Regions from separate parts of the Homo sapiens genome. Here region 1 is linked to region 2. Evidence: promoter capture Hi-C in human tissues and cell types (Jung and others, 2019). All regions are on one chromosome and are shown on one strand. Each heading gives the region's core, a stretch centred on a gene start or on the middle of the fragment in contact. The rest is flanking DNA. Distances are from core to core; before and after follow the strand shown. Region 1 overlaps CLTCL1 (clathrin heavy chain like 1). Region 2 holds the start of CLDN5 (claudin 5).

Region 1 (7,163 bases), core at 3,736-6,235, 260 kb before region 2:
GACTGAGAATTAGAGGCTGGAGAGCAAAAACCGGGAGCACCTGGAGAAGAAGAGACCCCAGGTCAGAGACTGGGCCATTACTTCAAGACCACTGAGAAGCTGATGGCTCAGATCTTTGCAAATTCTGTGGACAATGCCTTCATCGTTCTGCACACTGACAATGCCCATCTTGCTGCTGCTGACTTTAGAGTCAAGTATGAGACAGAGCTGGCCATGCACCAGTTTGTGAGGAGCGACATCCATGGGCTCTGCAAGGTCACTGATGACACCAGTGTCACTGGGCTGTAGATGAAGACAAAGATTGAGACTCTCAAGGAGAAGCTGTTCTTCATGAAGAACCATGAAGAGGGAGTAAAAGGCCTACAAGCCCGTATTACTAGCTTTGGGTTGACTGTGGAGGCAGATGTCCAAATATCAGGACCTTGGCAAGATCATGGCAGATATCTGGGCCCAATATGACAAGCTGACTCAGAAGAACCTAGAGAAGCTGGACAGGTACTGATCCCAGCAGATTGAGGAGAGCACCACAGTGGTCATCACGCAGTCCACCGAGATCAGAGCTGCTGAGATAACACTCACAGAGCTGAGATGTCCAGTCCAGTCCTTGGAGATTGGCCTGGACTTGATGAGAAATCTGAAGATCAGCTTGGAGAACAGCCTAAGGGAGGTGGAGGCCTGCTATACCACGCAGATGGAGCAGCTCAACAGGGTCCTACTGTACCTGGAGTCGGAGCTGGCACAGACCTGGGCAGAGGGACAGCGCCAGGCCCAGGAGTACGAGGCCTGGAACATCCAGGTCAATCTGGAGGCTGAGATCACCACCTACCACCGCCTGCTGGAAGATGGGGAGGACTTCAATCTTGGTGAGGCCCTAGACAGCAGCAACTCCATGCAAACCATCCAAAAGACCACCACCTGCAGGATAGTGGACGGCAAAGTGGTGTTTGAGACCAACGACACCAAAGTTCTGAGGAATTGAGCCAGCAGAAGCAGGGTACCCTTTGGGGAGCAGGAGGCCAGTAAAAAGTTCACAGGTTAAAAAAAACCCCAACAATTAAAATCATAAAATGTTTAGAGAAAACATAGGGGAAAAGCTTGATGACATTGGATCTTGCAATGATTTTTTTGGATATGACAATAAAAGAAAAAAAATGAATTGGACAGCATCAGAGGTCACAAAAGAGAGAAAAGGCAACCCACAGAATAAGAGAAAATATAGGCATACCTCACTTTATTACACTTTGTTTTATTGTGTCTTGCAGATATTGCACTTGTTTTGTTGTTTTGTTTTGTTTGAGACAGCGTTTCGCTCTTGTTGCCCAGGCTGGAGTGCAATGGCATGATCTTGGCTCACTGCCACCTCTGCCTCTCAGGTTCAAGAGATTCTCCTGCCTCAGCCTCTGTAGTAGTTGGGATTACAGGCGCCCACCACCATGCCCGACTAATTTTTGTATTTTTAGTAGAGACGGGGTTTTACCATGTTGGCCAGGCTGGTCTCGAACTCCTGACCTCAGGTGATCTGCCCGCCTCGGCCTCCCAAAGTGCTGGGATTACAGGCGTTTTTTTTGTTTTGTGAACAACAACAACAAAAAAAATCAAAGGTTTGCGGCAATCTTCCATCAAGCAAGTCTATTGGTATCATTTTTCCAACAGCATGTGCTCACTTCCTGTCTCTGGGTCACACTTTGGTAATTCTCATGATATTTCAAACTTTTTCATTATTATATTTGTTATACTGCTCTGTGATCAGTGATCTTTCATGTTATTACAGTAATTGTTTTGTGTCACCATGAACCACACACATATAAGATAGTGGACTTAATAAATGTGTGTGTTCTAACTGCTCCACTGACTGGCCATGCCCTAGTCCCTCTTCCTCTCTTCAGGCCTCCTTATTCCCTGAGACACAACAATATTGAAATTAGGCCATTTAACAACCTTCCTTGCTAAAGGAAAGTGAAAGTGAAAGGAAGAGTCCTACGTCTCTCACTTTAAGTCAAAAGTTAGGAATGATTAGGCTTTGTGAGGAAGGCATGTCAAAAGCCAAGGCAGACTGAAGGTTAGGTCTCTTGCACCAGTTAGCCAACTTGTGAACACAAAGGAAAAGTTATTTAAGGAAATTAAAAGTGCTATTTCAGTGAACACATTAATGATAAGAAAACAAACAGCCTTACTGCTGATATGGACAAAGTTGTAGTGGCCTGGATAGAAGATCTAAGCAGCCAGAACAATCCCTTAAGCCAAAGCCTAATCCACAGCAAGGCCCTAACTCTCTGCAATTCCATGAAGGCTGAGAGAGGTGAAGAAGTTGCAGAAGTCTGAAGCTAGCAGAGGTTGATTCATGAGGTTTAATGAAAGAAGCCATCTCCATAGCATAAAACGGCAAGGTGAAGCAGCAAGTTCTGATGCAGAAGCTGTGTCAAGTTCTCCAGACGACCTAGCTAAGATCATTGATGAACAAATTTTCAATGGAGAAGAAACAACCTCCTACTGGAAAAAGATGCCATTTAGGACTCAAGCAAGAGAGAAGTCAATGCCTGGCTTCAAAGCTTCAGAAGACAGGTTAACTCTCTTGTTAGGGGATAATGCAGCTGGTAACTTTAAATGGAAGGAATGCTCACCGACCACTCCAAAAATCCTAAGGCCCTTAAGAATTATGCTAAATTGACTGGGCGCAGTGGCTCACACCTGTAATCCCAGCACTTTGGAAGGCTGAGGCAGGCAGATCACTTGAGGTCAGGAGTTCGAGATCAGCCTGACCAACGTGGAAAGAAACCCCGTCTCTACTAAAAATACAAAAAATTAGCCGGGCATGGTGGTGCATGCCTGTAATTCCAGCTACTTGGGAGGCTGAGGCAGGAGAATCCCTTGAACTCGGGAGGTGGAGGTTGCGGTGAGCCAATATCGTGCCACTGCACTCCAGCCTGGGCAACAAGAGTGAAACTCTGTCTCAAAAAAAAAAAAAAAAAAAAAAAAAGAATTATGCTAAATCTCCTCTGCCTGTGTTCTATGAATGGAAAAACAAGAGTCGTGATGATAGTACATCTGTTTACAGCATGATTTACTGAATATTTAAAACTCACTGTTCAGATCTACTGATCAGAAAAAAAAAAAAAGGTTCCTTTCAAAAGATTACTGCTCTTTGACAATGCACCTGGTCACCTAAGAGCTCTGACGGAGATATACAAGGAGATGAAAGCTGTTTTCATGCCTGCTAACACATCAATTCTGCAATCCGTGGATCAAAGAGTAATTTCACCTTTCAAGTCTTATTATTTAAGAAATGCATTTTTTTTTTTTTTGAGACGGAGTCTTTGCTCTGTTGCCCAGGCTGGAGTGCAGTGGCGTAATCTTGGCTCACTGCAAGCTCCGCCTCCCGGGTTCACGCCATTCTCCTGCCTCAGCCTCCCCAGTAGCTGGGACTACAGGCGCCCAACCATGCCCAGCTAATGTCTTGTATTTTTAATAGAGAAGGGGTTTCACCGTGTTAGCCAGGATGGTCTCGACCTCCTGACCTTGTGATCCACCCGCCTCAGCCTCCCACAGTGCTGGGATTACAGGCGGAAGCCACCGTGCCCAGCCTAAGAAATACATTTTTAAAGGCTACAGCTGCCATAAATATGTCTCCTTTGATGGATCTAGGCGAAGTAAATTGATAACCTCCTGGAAAGGATTCACCATTCTAGATGCAACTAAGAACATTCGTGATTCACGAGAGGAGATCAAAATATCAATATTAACAGGAATTTGGAAGAAGTGTATTCCAACCCTCATGAATGACTTTGTGAGGTTCAGGACTTCAGTGGAGGAAGTCATTGCAGATGTGGTAGAAACAGCAAGAGAATTAGAAGTGGAGCCTGAAGATGGGACTGAATTGTTGCAATCTCAGGATCAAACTTGAACAGATGAGGGCTGCTTCTTAGGGATGACCAAAGAAAGGGGTTTCTTCCAATGGAATCTACTCCCAGTGAAGATGCTGTGAACACTGTTGAAATTACTACAAGAATTTAGAACAGTACATAAACTTACCTGATAAAGCAGCACCAGAGTCTGAAAGGACTGACTCCAATTCTGGAAGAAGTCTACTGTGGGTAAAATGTTAGCAAACAGCATTGCACGCTACAGAGCAATCTTTCATTAAAGGAAGAGTCAATCCCTGCGGAAACCTCACTGATGTCTTTTTTTAAAATTATTTATTATTTATTTATTTGTTTTTTGAGATGGAGTCTCACTCTGTTGCCAGACTGGAGTGCAGTGGCGTGATCTTGGCTCACTGCAACCTCCACCTCCCGGATTCAAGCGATTCTCCTGCCTCAGCCTCCCAAGTAGCTGGGACTACAGGAGCGTGCCACCAGGCCCAGCTAATTTTTTTGTATTTTTAGTAGAGACGGGGTTTCACCATGTTGGCCAGGATGGTCTCGATCTCTTGACCTCATGATCTGCCTGCCTCAGCCTCCCAAAGTGCTGGGATTACAGGCATAAGCCACCGCACCCAGCCTGATGTCTTATTTTAAGAAATTGCCAGCCTGTCGCGGTGGCTCATGCCTGTAGTCCCAGCACTTTGGGAGGCTGAGGCAGGTGGATCACGAAGTCAGGAGATGGAGACCATCCTGGCTAATGTGGTGAAACCCCATCTCTACTAAAAATACAAAAAATTGGCTGGGCTTGGTGGCAGGTGCCTGTGGTCCCACCTATTTGGGAGGCTGAGGCAGGAGAATGGCATGAACCCGGGAGGCGGAGCTTACAGTGAGCCGAGATTGCACTACTGCACTCCAGCCTGGGCAACAGGGTAAGACTCTGTCTCAAAAAAAAAAAAAAAATTGCCACAGCCACTCCAGCCTTCAGCCACCACCACTGTGATCAATCAGCAGCCATTGGCATCAAGGCAAGACCCTCCACCAGTAAAAAGTTTACAACTCGCAGCTGGGTACAGTGGCTCATGCCTGTAATCCCAGCACTTTGGGAGGCTGAGGCCGGCAGATCACTTGAGGTCAGGAGTTCGAGATCAGCCTGGCCAACATGGTGAAACCCCATCTCTACTAAAAATACAAAAATTAGCTGGGCGTGGTCGCACGTGCTTGTAATCCCAGCTACTCGGGAGGCTGAGGCAGGAGGATCCCTTAACCCTGGTAAACAGAAGTTGCAGAGAGTTGAGATAACGCCACTGCACTCCAGCCTGGGTGACAGAGAGAGACTCCATCTTTAAAAAAAAAAAAAAAAAAGATTACAACTCACTGAAGGCTGATAATGGTAAGCAATTTTTAGGAATAAATAAATAGATTATTCATTTATTTATTTATTTATTTTGAGACAGAGTCTCTCTCTGTAACCCAGGCTGACATGCAGTCATCAGACTCCTGGGCTCAAGATATTCTCCCATCTCAGCCTCCTTGAGTAGGTGAGACTACAGGCGTGCACCACCACACCCAGAATTTTTTTTTTTTTTTTTTGAGCTAAGGTCTCACTGTATTCTTTGCCATGCTGCTCTTGAATTCTTAGGCTCAAGCGATCTTCCCACCTTGGCCTCTGAAAGTACTAGGATTAGAGGTATATGCCACCATGCCTGGCCATAAATTATTTATTTTTATTTTTATTTTTATTTTTTGAGATGGAGTCTCACTCTGTCACCCAGGCTGAAGTGCAGTGGCGCAGTCTTGGCTCACTGCAACCTCTGCCTCCCGGGTTCACACCATTCTCCGCCTCAGCCTCTTGACAGGCTGGGACTACAGGCAACCGCCACCACGCCCAGCTAATTTTTGGGTTTTGTATTTTTAGTAGAGACAGGGTTTCACTGTGTTAGCCAGGATGGTCTTGATCTCCTGACCTTGTGATTCTCCTGCCTCGGCCTCCCAAAGTGCTGGGATTATAGGCGTGAGCCACTGCACCCAGCCAAATTATTTTTTAATTAAGATAATCCATTTTTTTAGACATAATGCTATTTCACACTTAATAGATTACAGCATAGTATAAACATAACTTTTATATGCACTGGGAAACCAAAAAATTCATGTAACTCACTATTGTAATATTCTTTTTATTGTGGTAGTTTGGAATTGAACTCAAAATATCTTCAAGGTATGCCTGTATATGGAAATCATATATCTGACAAGGGGTTAATATCCAGAATATATAAAGAATGCCTACAACTCAACAACAAAAAACACAAATAGTCCAGTTAAAAAATGACCCACGTGGAGTGGTTCACGCCTGTAATCCTAGCGCTTTGGGAAGCTGAGACGGGATGATCATGTGAGGCCAAGAGTTTAAGACAGCCTGGGCAACATGGCAAGACCCTGTCTCTACAAAGAAAAAATGTTTTTAATTAGCTGGTTGTAGTGGCGCATGCCTATAGTCCTAGCTACTTGGGAGGCTGAGGTAGGAGGATAGCTTGAGTCCAGGAGTTCGAAGTTACAGTCTCTTAAAAAAAAAAAAAAATGGCTACCATTAAAAAGAAAACAATACAAATAACAAGTGTTAGCAAGAATGTGAAAAAATTGGAACCCTGTGCACTACTGAGAATATAAAATAGTGCAACCACTATAGAAAAGAGATGGCAGTTCCTCAAAAAAATTAAAAATGAATAATGATATGATCCAGTCAATTACTTGTGGGTATAGAATTAAAAGGATTAAAAACAGGTTCCCCAAAAGACATCTGTACACTCATGTTAACAGCGGAATTATTTACAGATCTAGCTTTTTTTGAGGTACTACTATCTCTGAGGTACACAGCTAGAAAAAAAGAGTTAATCTGACTATCCAGTTAGTTAGCCAAGCTACGCAACAACTGATATTATTACAATATTATCATCAATTAGCAAAACTGGTTTTAAACCACAATTTGAGAAATAAGGCTGCTGTTGCTAACAGAAAGTCTTTAATGATATCATGATATACCTGGGCAATAATTAAGATGATTTCTTGAATTCACAAAAAGGAGCAACTCAATGGTGAAATTTCATGCAATTTTTTTTTTTTTGAGACAGAGTTTCGCTTTTGGGGCCCAAGCTGGAGTGCAATGGGTCGATCTAGGTTCATTGCAACCTCCGCCTCCCGGATTCAAGTGATTGTCCTCCTTCAGCGTCCCAAGTAGCTGGGATTATAGGCATACACCAACATGCCCAGCAAATTTTTGTATTTTTAGTAGAGACAGGGTTTCACCAT
Region 2 (7,042 bases), core at 2,950-5,449:
GTGCCAGGGGGCTGGCTGAGCAGCTGGGCGGGGTCCGTGAGGTAAGAAGGTGCCCGGGCCAGGGGGCAGGAGCTCTGATGTAGGACAGCTCAGCCCAGTCAAGGGGTGCTATGAGGACAGCAGGGGCCTCCGAGTCTGGGGTGGCCTCACCCCCACAAGCAGTCCTGGCTACTCAGCAGCACTACCCAGAGGGGACGCCTGGGCAGTTTCTTCAATTCGGTGGCACATCAACATCGTTTGAAACTTGTTTTTTCTTGTTTTGTTTTCTAGAATTTGATTCTTCCAGAATGACCTTCTTATTTATGTAACTGGCTTTCATTTAGATTGTAAGTTATGGACATGATTTGAGATGTAGAAGCCATTTTTTATTAAATAAAATGCTTATTTTAGGCTCCGTCCCCATTGTGGCTCTGGTCTCGAGGCCAGTGCTTGAGTGTGCTCTGAGCCTTCTGTGGGTCTTGGGCCCCAGGAGCCCTCAGTGCCTGGCAGGAAATCAGCATGGGGATTGGCCCCAAGGACAAGATCTCCTTACTCTGTCCTCCAGGCCCTCCGGGTGGCAGTGGACAGAGGTCAGGACCCCTCGGCATCCCCGCCTCCTCATAGCACCTGCACCGGCCACTGCCTGGTGGTGCCAGCCAGCACCTGGCTCTGTCCACCTACCACTTCCTCTGGTCCACCTGGCCTCAGCCACATAGCAAGTCCACCCTCTCAGCCATCCCTCCACCTGTGGGTCTCACCATCCAGCACTCTTTTCCAGGTCTTTGAAGGCAGGAGTGATTTGGGTAGGTTTTAAGTCAGTGGGGAAAAGCTCAGAAAGAGTGGCCTGGAAAAGAGCACACAGGTAGGTGGGGCTGGTCTTGGTGCAGCCCTTGGCAAAGGGCAGTGGGCACAAAAGGGTGAGAGCTGGACTGGAGGCTGGGCCCCTCCCCTCACCTCTGGTGGTTTGCACAGCTTCCCGGGACCCTTGAGCTGCCTACCCTGGCCATTTGGGAAAATTCAAAGGCTGTGCAGCTTCCTTTCCATGCCCTTTCTTTCCTTTTTTTGAGACAGAGTCTCGCTCTGTCACCAGACTAGAGTGCAGTTGGTGCGATCTCGGCACACTGCAACCTCTGCCTCCCGAGTTCAAGTGGTTCTCCTGTCTCAGCCTCCCGAGTAGCTGGGATTACAGGCACACACCACCACGCCCAGCTAATTTTTGTATTTTTAGTACAGACGGGTGTCACCACGTTGGCCAGAATGGTCTTGATGTCCTGACCCTGTGATCCGCCCACGTCGGCCTTCCAAAGTGCTGGGATTACAGGCGTGAGCCACCGTGCCCAGCCCCGTGCCTGTCCTTTCTTAGGAAAAGGCTTTCTTAGGAATGCCCTCCCAGGCAGCCTTGGGCCTCAGCTTCTGACCAAACACACCAGACCTGGTACTACCCAGTCCCGGTGGCCAGGTGCAAGAGTGTAAGGACCATTGTTTTTGGCTCTGCCCAGGGCCACAGCTCTGGGATCACACACTCCCAAGCTTGGGGACTATTCTTGGTCCCTGTTGTACAGGCCCAGGTGGGGTACAGGTCAGGCCTGCTGAGGACCTCTGCACCGTGGGGCCCCTCTCCCTGTAACTCATCCCACCGGCTGGTTCCACAGCAGCTCCCAGGAAGCTGCCACACATTCCAGCAGCTGCCCTAAGCCACTCTGAGCCTGCATTCTTGGGGTTCTCCCACTGCTCCATGATGGTAGCCTGGCCAGACCTAGGAGACTCCCTGCCACTGGATGTGGCCCAGACATTTCTGGGCAGGGCCCCCAAGTCCAGTTTGGGGCAGATACCAAGTCTCCCTTCCGGCTGGGCTTAGAGCTCTTCCCTGCAGCATGCCCCCTTCATCAGCTGCTCTCTTCTGCTTCTAGCTTTATGTCAAATGTCAAAAATGTGTTAATTCAAAGTGCCTAGAACAAGGCTAAAAACAGTGAGCTCTCAGTGGCTATGTTAGATGGCTCTAGACACCCCCATTCCGAGGTGCCTGGCAGGGGCCAGCACTGACTCCCAGGCCACACAGCCCCTGGAGGAGGAAGGTTACCCAGAGTGCCCCCAGCAGGGGCTGGCACAGGTGCTGGTTGTGAGCACCATTCTGGGCAGGCTGCCAGGCCAGCAGGGTGGGTACAGGCTCTGTAGGGAGCTGCGCTGGGACTGGCAGAGGAGCCAGGACGAGGGGCTAGAGCCAAGCTGTGGTACTCCAGGCAACCAGCTGCCAGCACCTCCTCCCATGGCAACCCTACTGTTGACCGGCGTGTCCTGCATTCACCCCTGTTCCTGCCCCACCCACCATTGGAAAGGGCCTGGTCGGGGATTCTACAGACCTCTGTGGCCACTTGATGGGGCTTGGGACTAGGCAAGCCCTGAGAGGGCAGTGGAAAACCTCACCCTGTGCTGTGTGGGGCTTGGCCCTTTCTGGGAGAAGCCAGCGGCCTGGCTGCTCACCCCCAGCACTTCCCACACCGCAGGACCCCCACTCACCAGCCTGTGTTGAGGGCGCTTCACCCCGCATCTTCTGCTGGGGTCTGCCGCTGCCCCCGCCCCTGTCCCATCCCGGGCCCCAGGGCCCCATGACGCAGCAGCTCTTCTGACCGCAGATCCCGCCTTTCTGGGCTGTAGTAAGTGGTGGCTGTGTCTCCCACCTGGTGGGAAGGTGGCAGGGAGGATGGGGAAAAGAGCCCCAGCCTCCAGCCCTGGGAGGAGGTCTCCACAGGAGTCCTTGGGAGGGCGGGGCTGGTGGGTGATGAATGGGGCTGCTGGACACGGAAGATGGCTGGACAGAGAACAGGACACAGGTGGGAGAGAGTTCAAACCATTTACTAAGCAGATTCTTAGCCTTCCCACTCCCGCCCTCTCTCAAGCTCCGGTGCCCACAAGCCTTGCCTGGGGAGATGCTGGAGTGAGACCGGGAGGTCCAGGCCAAGTCACTGGTCCCTGGGCTCGGGCCCTGCCGATGGAGTAAAGACCAGCTGTACACATCTTCCGGTGGGGGCCCTGGGCTCTGCATCCGCCCCTCCGAAGTCAGCAGGAGCCTCTGGGAAGTAAGGCAGCAGCCAAGACCCCCAGCGTCTTGGAGGGGAAGCGAAATCCTCAGTCTGACACCCGCTCTGCCTATGGAAACAGCGCCGCGCACAGAAAAGGAAACTTCATTCCGTCTGTTAAGGGCAGGGCCGGGCTAGTGGCAGGAGAAGGTCAGCTGCGGGCGCAGGCAGGAGCGGATCCAGGAGCCGCGTCGGGGCGCAGAGCCGGACGTTCCGAGGAGCCTGCGCGCCGCGCTACCCGGCGGAAGCCGCGGTCCATGCGGGGCTCCCCAGGCTTATCCAACGCCTCGCAGGCGTGGCTGGCAGGAGGGGCCCGGCCGTGCCCAGCGCCCTCAGACGTAGTTCTTCTTGTCGTAGTCGCCGGTGGCCGTGGGCCGCCGCGGCGCTGAGTACTTCACGGGGAAGCTGAGGTCGGGACGGCCGGTGCAGACCCAGGCGCCGCAGCACAAGAGGCAGCCGCCTACCATGAGCAGCGCGGTGGCCGCCCAGCCGATGTACAGCGCTGCGCCCAGCTCGTACTTCTGCGACACGGGCACAGACGGGTCGTAAAACTCGCGGACGACAATGTTGGCGAACCAGCAGAGTGGCACGAGCGCCAGCAGCCCGCAAAACAGGTAGAGCACGCCTCCCGTGAGGGCCACACGCGCCTTGGCCGGGCCCGGGGCCACGCAGGTGGTGCACTGCGCGCCCGCCAGGGTCACGAAGAGCGCAACGAACGCCAGCAGCACGGCGCTCACGGTGAGCGCCCGCGCCGCCTGCACCTCGGTGCTCAGAGCCAGCACCGAGTCGTACACTTTGCACTGCATGTGCCCGGTGCTCTGCACCACGCACGACATCCACAGCCCCTTCCAGGTGGTCTGCGCCGTCACGATGTTGTGGTCCAGGAAGGCGGTCACCTGCCACATGGGCAGCCCGCACGCCAGGATCAGACCCCCCCAGCCCACCAGGCACAGCACCAGGCCCAGGATCTCCAACGCTGCGGACCCCATGGCTAGAGGCGAGACGCGCACCCGAAGGCCCGCAGAACCCCCAAGGCCGTGCTGCGCGGCGCCCTGGGCGGGCCCTGGTGCCTTTGCGCCCGCGCTCCCGGCTCTTGGCCCCAGTCCGTTTGCCCCGCGGGTCTGTCGCACCTCCTGGGTCTGCCAGCTCCTGCCGGGGGGTACCCTCTTTGAAGGTTCGGGGGCGGATTCTGTCCCCCGGGCCCGGCCCCCCGGCCCGAAGCAGCCAATCCGTGCGCGGGTCATCGTGCCGCAGCCAATCACAGAGCCTCTGGCAGCTGAAGTTAGGGAAACAACGGCTCTTGAGGGGTAGCTGAGGGCGCGGGACCGCTCCCCGCCCGGCAGCCGCCCCCAGCCCCACCCGCCGTTGTCCTAGTCGCGGCCGAGCGCATTCTGGGCTGGCCTAGGGCGCGCTTCTTGGGCCGCCTCCCTGCGCGTCCCGGCCCCGTCACTTCAGAAGGCGCTCGACCCCCAGTCTGCACCACCCAGTCCACTCCCACATCCCCGACTGAGCCGGGTGGTCTCTTCCACTCGAGCCAGCTCCACTTCCCTGACCAAGGTTTGCAGAAGCCCCCCACCCCGTCACCGCCGTAGAGGCCCTCGTAGGGGGGCTCTCCAGAAAGCCCGCCCCGGGGTCCAAGCCCCACCCAGGCCCTTTCTCGCACTCTCACTCTCCAGCCCCGCTCTGAGTCCCAGCACTGTCTCTCTCATCCCATGGCAAACAGAGAGGCCAGGCAGGCGTGTGGAGGTCAGGCCCAGGGCCCCAGCCTCACCCCCCATGCCACTCACTGCCTCTCTGGAGCCTGAGTCTCTGGCAAAAAGCGGTGGCACAGGGGCTTTCCCCCTGCCTGGCGACCCCCACTCTCCCAAGCCGCAGGGGCTTCCCAGACCTCTCAATCTTCACAGGGGCTGCTCCTCTTCCTGCGGTACTGCCCGCACCCCATCCTTGGGGGCCCAGTTCAGGTGACACCACTTCAGGAAGTTCCCAGTGACCCAGCACACTGGGTGTAGCACCCAGGGGCAGTGGTGGCCCCAGGCCTAGCAGCCTGCTCTGGCCTTCAGACAGGAGAGACAAAGGGACACGGAGGGGCTGTGCCCTGCCCTCCCACCAGTGGCGATGGTGTCCCTGGCACCCCAGCCCCCAGGCCACCCTCCGGAAGCCAACTTGGAGTTTCCTGGCCAGGAGGAAGAGCCCCCATCCTTGCTGGAGGAGGGAGGCGCGGGATTTCCGGGCATTCTTCTGCACAATGGCCCAGCCATTTCTCGAAAGGTCCACTGGTGTGGACACTCCGGGCCCCCTGAGGCTCAGGTGGGGGCACGCGGCTCCAAAACCCACAGCCCCATGGGGGCACCAGCCCCTTTCTAGTAGTTCTTTCCCCAGTCTCTCTCGGCCCCTTTGTTTCCAGTAAAGTTTGAACTCCAGGCCCTGGACTGAGGCCACTGGGTGCCCAGTTCTTTTATCTGGTCTGTGCTCAGTTCCATTGGACAGGGCCCTCCATAGAAAAAGTATGGCACTGAGGCTGGTCACAGATGTGGGAGGTTTGATGACTTTCTCCCTCCTGGGGCCCGGTTCCCTTCTCCCCCTTCAGATGGCTCTGAGATGGTAAATGAGATAAGGCCAGCGTCTGGCTCACCTAGTGTGGGGAGGTTCTGAAGGCAAGTGTGCCCAGCCCTGAGGCTGGAAGGAAATCATACCCTCTTTGCTCAGCCCCACGTGGCCTCTCCCCACCAGGTATGGCTCTGAGGACCACTGCCTTCTCCCAGCTATCACTTTAGTCACTGCCTTCCTCCTGCTGCAGACCCATGGGCCATGCCCCTTCCTCTACAGACCCTCCTGGACATCTCCTCCTCTGTGTACTCCAGGGGTACAGCTGACCCACCCACCCTCTCACTCTTACTACCCCCTAACCCAAGCCCAGGGAACTTCCCCAGATCCCCCTACTCCCAGCCCTTCCATGCCACCATCTTCCTGGGATGACTGCTGCGGCCTCCTCAGGTCATCAGGGACCTGCCCTTGCCCAGCTAGGCCACCCACCCCACCAGGCCCCTCTCCTGGGCCTCACCCTACCTAAGACCCTCCATGGCTCACATTGCCCATGGACGAAGAGCCGACTCCCAGAGCAGCTGGATTGATGTGTACCTGCATGCGCTAGGACTGGCCAGTCCAGCCACCAGTCTTGGTGCGGCCCTGAGCACACACTCTGCCCCAGGAGACTTACCTGCCTATGGGCCTCACATGGGCCGTCTCTTACCTTGGCCTCTTCTGCCCGCAGCGTGTATCTGTCAGGTTGGGTCCTGCTCATCTTCTAAGATGTGTTGCCGAGGTCATTTCCAGGAACACCTTGCTGCACCGTCCCCCAGCATTGCTTTTAGAAGCTTGAGCTGGACCTGTCCTTTTGCTTGCCGACTTTCCCACCTAGTATCCAGGAATAACCTCCACAGGGTGGCTGTCTTCATGCGTCTGTCCTGCACAGGAGGCTGCCTGTTGCCCTCTAGCCAGCTTGGAGCTGCAGCCAGCCCAAGGCTCTCCCTTCTCACCTGGCTGCCTGTTTTTCTTCTCTCCTAGCTGTCACCCTAGGGTGGCCCCAGCAAGCTCATGTTTCTTTGGCGGCAGCCTCACAGCATCTCAGGGACGTGGCAGAGGAGTCTCAGGCTTCACCTTTCACAATCTGGTTTCTACCCTGACCCCACTATGTTGGTCGAGGCCCCAGGCTGCAGTGGAACAATGCCAATGCAGAGAGGCCCAGAGAGGGCCGCAGGGGCTGACGCCACCCCAGACAAACCCACCTCAGATGGAGGCTGGCCTCTGAGTAGCCCAGGCCAGACTCCGGAGGGGCATGAGGGTGCACCCACCTTTCCTGCCACTCATGGAGGGTCTGCTCACCTACTTCGTGGCAAGCACTGTCTCTAGGCAGAGCACACAGCACAAGAAGCTCCTGCCCAGAAGGAGCTGACAGGAACCTATCAACCAAGAACTGGGCAGGAAAG

The links. The method cuts DNA at HindIII sites, captures the fragments that hold promoters and counts their contacts. A contact is called where the count stands out against the background at its distance.
Region 1: a contact is called between a fragment that was not itself captured here and the fragment with the promoter of CLDN5 in region 2, in 2 of the 25 tissues and cell types used here (dorsolateral prefrontal cortex and spleen).

The regions. Positions count from the first base shown.
Region 1 is chr22:19,257,828-19,264,990 of GRCh38, forward strand. All of the region lies in intron 2 of CLTCL1 (clathrin heavy chain like 1), which reads right to left. It also overlaps the pseudogene KRT18P62. Among named protein-coding and RNA genes, the nearest start is that of CLTCL1, 30 kb to the right of the region's middle. The HindIII fragment of the contact is 6,328 bases long and covers 1,822-7,163 here.
Region 2 is chr22:19,520,211-19,527,252 of GRCh38, forward strand. It overlaps CLDN5 (claudin 5), which reads right to left and starts at 4,200. Exons shown (of 1, transcript NM_001363066.2): 1 at 2,817-4,200. The coding sequence starts at 4,045. The coding sequence ends at 3,389. It overlaps CDC45 (cell division cycle 45), which reads left to right. Exons shown (of 19, transcript NM_003504.5): 19 at 271-398. RefSeq lists an enhancer at 1,883-2,815. The HindIII fragment of the contact is 10,668 bases long and covers 3,970-7,042 here.